Regions from separate parts of the Homo sapiens genome. Here region 1 is linked to region 2. The links are contacts of gene promoters, found by promoter capture Hi-C in blood cells and fetal thymus (Javierre and others, 2016). All regions are on one chromosome and are shown on one strand. The core of a region is centred on a gene start or on the middle of the fragment in contact, and the rest is flanking DNA. Distances in the headings are between cores, read along the strand shown.

The links. Contacts are between HindIII fragments. The CHiCAGO score rates a contact against its expected background, and 5 or more counts as called.
Region 1: a fragment that was not itself captured here is called in contact with the fragment with the promoter of DAW1 in region 2 in 1 of 17 cell types (M2 macrophages); the score reaches 6.2 in M2 macrophages.

What each region holds. Positions count from the first base shown.
Region 1 is chr2:229,398,853-229,404,445 of GRCh38, forward strand. All of the region lies in intron 10 of DNER (delta/notch like EGF repeat containing), which reads right to left. Among named protein-coding and RNA genes, the nearest start is that of PID1, 130 kb to the left of the region's middle. The HindIII fragment of the contact is 1,009 bases long and covers 2,954-3,962 here.
Region 2 is chr2:227,870,211-227,875,094 of GRCh38, forward strand. DAW1 (dynein assembly factor with WD repeats 1) reads left to right here and starts at 1,421. Exons shown (of 13, transcript NM_178821.3): 1 at 1,421-1,519. The coding sequence starts at 1,480. It also overlaps the pseudogene CRIPTOP2. The HindIII fragment of the contact is 8,065 bases long and covers 1-4,884 here.

The sequences.
Region 1 (5,593 bases), core at 2,208-4,707, 1.5 Mb after region 2:
TCCATTGACAAAATTCAATACCAATTTATGGTTAAAGTTATCAGCAAACTAGGAATAGAGAGGAACTTCCTCAATTTGATAAACAGCATCTAAAAAAAAACACTACAGCTGACATTATCATTAATGGTGAAAGACTGAATGCTTTTCCCCTAATGTTGAAAACAAAGCAAAGATGTCTGCTCTTACTGAACCTAGTGTTAGAAGTTCTGGCTAGTGAGACAAGACAAAAAATAAAATTTATACCTATCAGAAAGGAAGAAATAAAACTGCCGCTCTTTTCAGATGGCATCATTATTTATGTAGAAAATCCCAAGAAATCTACAAAAAAAAAAAATCCTAAAACTAGTAAGTTCAGCAAGGTCACAGGATACAATTTAAACATACAAAAATCAATTATATTTCTATATACTAGCAAGAACAATTCTATTTACAATCACTAAAAATACACCATACACACACACACACACACATGCATATATACATACCTACTTGGATACTTGGATATACATGTACAGGGAAAAAATGTTGATGAAAGAAATCAAAGATCTAAATAAGTGGAGAGTCACACTGTGTTCATGAATTGGAAAACTCCAAATAGTAAAGATATTGATTCTTCCCCAAATTGATATACTGGTTTATTGTAATTCCTCAGCAAAATCTTTTGTAGGTATAGACAAGATTATTGTAAAATTTATATGAAAAGGCTAAGGATCTAGAATAGTTATAACAGTTTTGGAAAAAAAATAAGGTGGTAGGAATTATTCTGCCCAATTTCAATAGTTATTATGAAACTACAGTTGTTATGACATAATAAAGGTAGAGGAATAGACACATAATCAATGAAAAAGAAGAGCCCAAAATAGACCCACATAATATGGCCAGCTGATTTTTGACGAAAGTTCAAAAGCAATTCAATGAAGAAAAGATAGCCCTTTCAGCTAATGATGCTTGAAAAATTATACTTACATAAGCAAATGTAAATAAAAGAGCCTCCTCTAGTTAGAAGATTCAGGAAAGAATGCAAACTGTGAGAAAAGATTCTAACTATATTACAACTGTATGGAACAACCTCACAAAGGGGTCTGGGGGGGAGCTGACCTAAGTGACTTTGGAAATGGGTAGGATTGATAAGACTAAATGCAAAATAAGTGGTACATAAACACAATACTCTAGTTCATAAAGTTGTTTTCCACAAGGGTATAAGTTAACAATTCTGATACTGCTATACCTGGATACTGAAATTGAACAATTAAGTAAATAAATGATGGATGATGAAAGGCAGTATTTGGTTGTTGGTGTGAAGGGTTTACAAATAAGCAAGGGGAGAAGGCTAGAACCATTCATGCTGTAACAAACTAGAGTTGGAGACATCACTGTGAATTCATGTTTAGCTTAATATAGACAAAGATAACTACATCATGCAATATTTATGGATAAGCACATGTCCATGGGTTAGTATACACATGCACTTCCTCACTTTGTCAGCTGAGAGGACCTAAAAGCAATGATATCCCAGTAAAAACAAGCACAGCTTAGCACCCAAATCTTGTTTTTAATACTATTCTCCAATTAAAAAAACCAGAGATCCTTAGAGAAATGAATGACTCTAGAACTGGAGCAGGAAATACACAAGATGAGGCTGAAGCATCTTGCAGTGCCAGAACGTATATATGTTTTAAAAAACAAAACAAAAAATTAGCCACAAAACAAAAAATTAACCACATTAATGGGGATGTGGCAAAGAGGTAATAGGAGCCAACTGAAAGAACTCCCAATGGCCAAAGTATTGGATTATAACCTAAAGTATAAAATAAATATCCATGAACCCATAAATAAATGATTAAATAAATACACAAATGGAGGAGAATAAACAAATCTTTCATCCAGAAGAATTCCAAATAATTCATGTAGCTACTTTACCCTTAAAGAGCAAGAGCATAACTCCCTTCTTGATAAGTGTGGACTACACAACACTTTCTTTGGAAGGAAGTCACTTCCTCCCAAATTGTTAAGTATGGAAAGGGAGAGAAGGAGTAACATTATAGTAGAGAAACTTGACAAACACTACCTCAGCTAAGTGATCAACATCAACGTCAATGATCATAAATCTCATTGACAGTATGTAGCCTTGATGTGATGTGATAGGATTAGAAAATGGACAAAAGACAGAAAGAAACATTTCTTCACAGGATATGCAGATATCAAATAAGCACAGGAAAAGATGCTAAACATCATTTATCATTAGGGGAATTCAAACTGAAACCCCAATGAGCTATCATTTTACCCCTATCAGAATGGCCCAAATAAAAAATAGTGATAACACCAAATGCTGGCAAGGATGTAGAGAAACTGAATCACTCAGACATCGTTGGTGGGGAATATAAAATGCATAAGCCACTCTGGAAACATTTTGGCTCTTTTTATAAAACTAAGCATGCAACTACCATATGACCCAGCAATTGAATTTCTGGGCAATTGTCCCGGAAAAATGAAAATTTATGTTCACACATAAACCTATATATGACAGTTTACACCACCTTTTTTATAATAGCTGAAAACTGAAAACAATCCAGATTCCTTTCAACAGGGGACTGGTTAAACAAACTCTGGGACATCCATACTTTGGAATACTGCTCAGCAATAAAAAGGGAGAAATTATTGACCCAAAATAACCTGGATGCATCTCCAAAGAATCACGCTGAGTAGAAAAAAAAATCAATCTCAAAAGGCTACACACTATATGATTCCATTTATGCAATATTCTTGAAATTACAAAAATGCAAAATACACTAGTGGTTTCCAGGAATTAAAGACAGTTGTGGCGCAAGGGAAAAGGGTAACCAGTATCCTGGTTATGAAATTGTACTGTAGTTTTACAATATGTTATCATTGGAGGAAACTGGGTGAAGCTTACATTGGATCTCTCTCTATTACTACTTGCAACTGCAGGTAAAGCTTCAATAATCTCAAACTAAAATTTTGAAAAACTAGCCAGAGAAAAATAGACCCATATATAATCAATTGTTTTCTAACAAATGTAGCAATGAAATCCAATGGGGAAAAGACTGTATTTTCAATAAGATGCTGGACTAACTGGATGTTTACATGGGAAAAATATTTTCCATCCTTAAGTCACACCGTAAACAAAAATTAACTCAAAACAGACTCTACACCTAAACTTAAAAGCAGACCTATTTTAAAAACACTTTAGAAGAAAACATCGGATAAAATTTCACCATCTTGAAGTAGACAAAGATTTCTTACAATACCAGAAAAGCACAAACCATAAAAGAAAAAAAATTGATAAATTAGACCAATTACCAAAATTGAAAACTTTACTCCCCAAAAGATACCATTAAAAAAATGCATGGATGAGCAAAATGTATACCTGACAAAGAACTTGTATCCAGAATATGTAAAGAATTCTTTGAAATCAATAGTATGACAAACAACCAAAATTTTTTAAATGGGCAGATTATTTGAAAAGATAATTCACAAGTAAAGACATATGAAGAGCAAATAACCACATGAAAGATGCTGAGCATCAAAGAAATTCAATGAAAATGTCAATGAAATTAAAGCACTGATGGTATTTTACCATAAAAATTGAACTAGAAATTGTAATATTCTATTGTGAACTGAAAGACAAATATCAAAAAATAGTTGAGTTAAAAGACAGAGAGAAAGATATAGTAACATCATTCTACCTTTAATAATGCACAAGGATTTCCTGCTCTGGTGAGAAAGGAATGGGTCACTTGTGTCCCAGCTGTTCAAATGACAATGTCAATGGGCTTGGAAGAATCTTTGGCTTCCCTGTTGAAGTACGGTTACCTTATGTCCAGTCTATGGTTTCAGGTAAAAAAATAAAGCAAATCCTAGAGAATTAATGTTGCATCAGGGTATCTTTCCTTCCATCCACTGGTCCTCAGCCAGATAATTCCAAGGGGGCAGAATTGCAAAGCTTCGGTGACAAGAGTGGTCCCAAAGTAAGACAGTAACTGAAGGGTGGACAGGACCTAGGCCAGGACAGTGGGCCTTATGGAGAGAACTGTGTAGAAGGAATGAAATGCTTGAAGAGCAGGGAGGCTCTCTGTTCAGATGACTGGAGGAAGCGTATTTTCAGCCAGAAGCCTAGGTTCAGCAAGAGAGGACAGAGTCCCCCACATACCACACCCTATACTTTATCTGATGGCCTAAGAAAGCCAGTTTAATATGGTAAATATGACATTGGATTGAGTATCTAATTATATAGCAATGATTTGCCCGATTCACTCCACTCGGTCAAGCAGAGAGTTTTTGAACACTCAGTAGCTGGCCAAGTGTAACTTCTGCTAAACCTCAGGTACAATGAAAGAGTATTTGATTCCAAGGTAGCTCAACCTCAAGAGCAGAAGCACCATACTCCTTGTATGGAAGCAGTTAATATTTTATCAGCCTCTCCTGTGGAACACTAGTTCTCAGGAACAATAGATTCTCTTTAAGGAAAAAAATGGTTCTATGATCAAATAGATTTGAAAGATAAATTTACTGTTAAGACCTCTGAGAACCTTGAGCACACAGACATCCTTTATGAATCTGCACGTGGGATGTATCATGTCCCACATTTATTTGGCCACAGAACACTTTTTTCCATGGAGCATCTCCTGGGACCAGTTTTCTGTTAAACGCATTAACAGCACAACCCCTAAATGACTTTAGGAACTATTCTGTGGTCCTCTGTAGGCTGAAAAACTATCAGGGCTGAATAGAATAGACCACTTGTTTTCAAAAAGCAGTTAGAGTGATGTTTAAACCTACTTCAGTGAGTCCCACTGCGCCCTGAGATCAGGGTGGGTCTCATGAAAAAATGCCTAAGGGTGAGATTGCTGGTGGGGTATATATGGGTATGGTGGGTGTAGGGGTAAAGGGATGAGCAGAGGGGGGCTGAGAGGCAAGAGATGGAGGAAAGGCACCTTACTGAGAAGAGCGTGACATGGTATGTTCAGTTATGCAGCAAGCAGAGGGGCCCAGGACAAGGCTGGAAAGGCTGGATGGGGCCAGACCACTCAGGTCTTAAAGATTATGTTAAGGACTTTGATCTTTTTCCTAAGGACAATAAAATGCCAATAGGTGTTTTAGGTAAAGAGTGATAAGATTAGATGATCATGCATAAGGTCTCTGCAGTATGAAAAATGGATTAGGAGTCAGGAGGAATAGGTGTGAGGAGACCAGATAGGAAGGCTTGTAGTGGTGCAGGTAGGTTGGAGGTGAAGGCAGCATGGTGCTGACTCTGCAAAGAAGTGAAAAGATCTAAGAGGTTTTTAGGAGTCCTTGGTAGTTGGATGGAGGTAAGAGGGAAAAAGAGGAAGGTATATTAGTCTGTTCTCACACTGCTATGAAGATACTACCCAAGACTGGGTAATTTAGAAAGGAAAGAGGTTTAACTGACTCACAGTTCTACATGGCTGGGGAGGCCTCGGAAAACTTACAATCATGGCAGAAGGCACCTCTTCACAGGGCGGCAGGAGACAGAATGAGAGCCAGCAGGGGAAATGCCAGCTACTTATAAAACCATCAGATCTCATGAGTACTCACTCACTATCATGAGAAC
Region 2 (4,884 bases), core at 171-2,670:
AATGCCTGAGGAAAGCAGCGGAGCTGCCCGTGCCAGCATTTACACATGGAACACTTCTTGGGCAGCCGGGTGTCATGGGGCACAGACCCACAATTCTCTTTGCGTACACCGTGCTCACAGTTCCATCCATAGAAGGAGGGGAGGCAGGCACAAAAGGACCCCAGCATGCAGGTTCCCCCATTCAGGCAGCAGGTTCTGTTTGGCTCCTTACTGTCCTGTATCCCCATGGGGGGCACAAGCTGGGAAGACCGAGGACGAATTGCAGGCTCCTCCTGGGGCTGAATGCTGTCATCTCTGAAGGCCAGGTCTCCCTGAGATGGACGCACAAGTTCCCGATGGCTCAGCCTTTAACAAGCAATTCAACGCCTTTAAAAAATTGCCTTTACTTTTACAGTTACTGGCTGTTTACTGAAAATTTCATATAATTTTAAATTTAGAAATAAAAACTTCACAGATGGAATTAAATTTCATATAATTTTCAGTAAACAGCCAGTAACTGTAAAAGTAAAGGTAATTTTTAAGATTACATTTTACTAAGTGAAGTAAAATAAGTGAGTCAATCTAGAGACATTTTAAGAACTTAAAACTTAGGTATGGATCTCTGGAAGAGGTAAGGAGAGATATGGCTCATAGTTGCGCAGATAACACAGGAATGACTCAAGTTTGAGAAATTCCAGTTGAGGCCAAATTCCTTAAAGGAAATTGACAAGCTGGTTGGCTGACTCTGTCTCTCCGCAGGCTTTCTCATGGAAACGTGGCAGGCAAACAACGATGCTGGCAAGAAATTGGACAAGCCGCATGAAGGCCTGGAGAGTTTTAAGCCCAGGTTGAGAGCACAGGTGTAGGCTTTCTGGTGTAGGTTCCGACGCACCTGCCTTCCATTCCCGCCTATCCATTTAGGCTGCGACCTCTGGTAGTTCTCCACTTTCTCTAATTCTGAGTTACTTCATCCTTAAGAAGTGGTGCATAACTCACACCTTGTTAGGATTGTATGAGTATGTGTGCATACACCGTTTAAAGCAATGTAGGGCACAGAGTCAGGAAATGCAAAATATTAAGTTGAGGTCATTTTTCTTTTGGGAGGACAAGGACAGGGCACGGGCTGGGGCCCTAGAGTAGTAATTAGCGATGGGCTTTTCCTCCCAGCCTTCCTTTTGGGAAACGCAGTGTGCTAAAAAAGTGCATGCAGCCCAGGCTGTGGCCTAGGCCGTCGGTTCCCGGCCATGCCTAGCTCCTCTGAGGTCGCCCTTAGTGAGGACACGAGGTGCCCTCACCTCTTTCACTCTAGACACCTCCAGAACACTCGCCCCCCGCGCGCCGGAGCCCCGGGTCGCCACCAACCGCCCGCGGAGCCAGACCTCCCAGCTCTGCGCCCCAGGACCGCGCGGTGCAACCTGCGCATGCGCACCCGCGTCCCGCTGCTGTTTAGCCGTTTCCAAGGCTACGAAGCCCATCGGCCGGGGATAAGAGAGCAAGAAAATGAAGCTCAAGAGCCTCCTGCTCCGGTATTACCCGCCAGGTACGCACCAGCCCGGCCCCGTCATCCCCACGTGGGACCCTGGGCTCCCAGACTGGGAGGGTTTGGGGCGGAGGAGGGCGCAGCCACTGAAAGGCGGCGGGGTCCCCAGGTGGGGCAGGAAGTCGGGCACTTCCCAACCTGTGCCCCTCATTCCTTCAGATGCTGGACTCTTCCTCAAAACATTAACAATTACTCTTTTAGGAATTTAAAGAGTTTAGCTTGACTGTGCATGTCAGTCTGTCTGCATTTATTGAGTGCCTACTGCGTACACGCTTTGTGCTCTCTGCTATGGACCTTTAAAGAAGTTCATAGTGCTTGATTTCAATGAGTGAAGTAATTATGAAATAAATTACTTAACTATTACTTAGTAACATAAGCAATACATTAATTACCTAATCCTTGCCTAACTCTAATTTTAGGTGAGGACATGGTCACCTTTAAAGAATAAGTGACACCCATTGATCACCCAGCTTCTTAGGGACAGAAATAGGAGTGCAATTCTTGGGTTCTAATTCAGAACTCGTCTTCTGAATTAGAAACATCTGCAAAAAAAAAAAAAAAAAGAAAAAAAAGAAAAAAATCTGCAAAACATACCACAAGGCAGAAGATAACCAAATACACTTGCCCAATGAAGTTTGGATAGGAAGTGTCATAAAGATTTCAAAGGAGGGTAAGATACTTTGGACCGGTTTTGTTAAGAATAGCTTTATGAGGGGTGGGACTTGAATTTCAGGTTGAATATCTCACTTTTCCCTGCAACACATCCAACTGCTTGGTCAACATCGCCGATGAGGTATCGCATAGAGATCTCATGATTTCTTTTTTCCAGTCCCATCCCAATCCTGCTGCTTCCTCAAACTGTGCCCTGCCAGTAGAAGGCATCATCACCCAGCCTGTTTTTTGCCAGAAACCTAGGTGGTCACTTTTTGTTTCTCTCCTGTGATCATTCACTGCCTCCCCCACCCCCCCAACCCCCGGCATTCCGTTATCATTCTGCCAGCTCTAAGTCCAAAATATTCTGTGAATCCATCAGATTATCCCTCTTTCCATAGCACAGATTTCTTGGTCTAACATCCCTTCCAGCTGCCAACCTAGTCCAACCCTCCATTCCAGCCACCATTCCCTTTGGCTGAGCCACTCCAGTGGCTTTTCAACTGGATTCCTGGTTTTCACCCTCATCTCCTACAATCCATCTGCCACTAGGAGCCAGTGGGATCTGAATTCAAGATCTCCAATAGCTTCCTATCATGCTTAGAATACGATCCGCAACCTGTGGGATTTGGCTCATTCTGTGCTGCTGACTTCTAAAACTTCACTTGTCTACCCTCACTATACTTCTGACTTCTTTAGCTTGTTCTTCTAAGACTTAAGAGAGGGCCTTTCACTCATTCGTTTTTTGGACCCAGCTTTCCCTAGAGCTAGGAAAAGCTGCTTCCTTTTCTTCATTCAGTTTCAATCAATGTCAACCACCTGAAGAGACTTTCCTACCTATTCAAAGTAGCCTGCACTGATTTTACTCTATGCCATAAAGTGCTTAAAAATTATATTTGTCATCATCCAAAACTCTACTTGTTTTGTTTCAAATGTCTGCCCCTTTCCCATTTAATGTAAACTTCGTGAGAACTAAGATCTTAGTGTGGTTTGATCATTGTAGCACCCTCAGCTTCTAGAAGAGATTTGGTGACACAGAAGATCAGGAATGTTTGTTGAATGAATGTATGGATAAATGGATGTGTTTGATGAGAGGTCAGGTATGGAAATTACTGAAAATAAACACTGAAAATCTTAAGGGATGCTGCTTCTGCCTCCCTGGAAGACCGATCCTGGACAGCTACTTTCTCCAATGGGAAGTTGACATTTGTAGAAAAGACATGCATTTTCTCCTTCATAGAATTCCAGTTAAAATAATATGAGAAAGCTATATATATGACAGTATCTAGATAAATTTATTTTATGTAATTAATTAATTAATTTAATTTTTGAGACAGAGTCTTGCTCTGTCACCCAGGTTGGAGTGCAGTGGTGCAATCCAACTCCACCTCTTGGATTCAAATGATTCTCATCCCTTAGCCTCCCAGGTAGCTGGAATCACAGGTGTGCACTACCAAGCCCAGCTAATTTTTGTATTTTTAGCAGAGACGGGGTTTCACCATGTTGGCCAGGCTGGTCTTGAATTCCTCACCTCAAGTGATCCACCTGTCTTGGACTCCCAAAGTGCTGGGATTACAGATGTGAGCCACTGCATCAGGCTGAGAGTATCTACGAAATTTAAATTAGGCATAGGTAGATAGTATATAGAAAATTTAAAATTAAGACTAATAGTCTGTTTCCTTTAAGTATTCCATAATTTTCTTTTGGCTCTTTTTGCCCATAGGCCTGTGCTGGTTCCCATAGATGTACCAATAAATGAAGCTCTTGCTTTCATCTCTTTGTTGTGGAGTGTAGGTTAAGAATATGAGCTCTGGGTTCAGAATAACGGCTTCTCACCATATACAATAATAAAAAAACTTGGGCAATTTGTTTTATTCTATCAAAGCATGGGTACATGGTGACAACAGCACCACTTCACAGGTCTACTAGACCCTTCCAGCTTCTTATCTTATTTGATTCTTTCTCTTCAGAGTAGAGAAAATTTTTGGAAGAATACTCTCCCCAAGTGCTGTCCTCCCTTCCTATCATGTTTTCACGCGGATTGCCCCACTGAAACTGCCCACTTTAAGATCTCCAATGACATTCACATTGCTAATCTACTGGCCAAGCCACAGTCCTTGCCTGCCTTGACCTGACAGCAGCATTCAACCACTCTGCTTTTCTTTGGCTTCCAGGACACATATTCTATTTTCCTTCCTGTCTCACGTCACTTCTTCTGTGTCTATCTTGTTGGTTCCTCTTCTTCTTTTTGATTATTTAATGTTGGAGTGCCCCAGAGCCCCAACCTTGGATTTCTCCTTTCTATCTACACTCATACACTATGCAATCTCATCCATTCTCAAGGCTTAAAAACTATCCTGAACTGAGGTCAGGAGTTCGAGACCAGCCTGCCCAACATGGTGAAACCCCGTCTCTACTAAAAATACAAAACAATTAGCCAGGTGTGGTGGTGCGGGTCTGTAATCCCAGCTACTCAGGAGGCTGAGGCAGGAGAATCGCTTGAATCTGGGAGGTGGAGGTTGCAGTGAGCCAAGATCACACCAATGCACTCCAGCCTGGGTGCCAGAGCAAGACTCTGTCTCAAAACAAACAAACAAACAAACAAACAGAAAAACAAAAAACAAACCATCCCGCATAGTCCTGAGTACCTGAGTGCCCACCCGACACATTCATTTGAATGTCCACCGTACATCTCATGTGGGGGTCTCCCATGG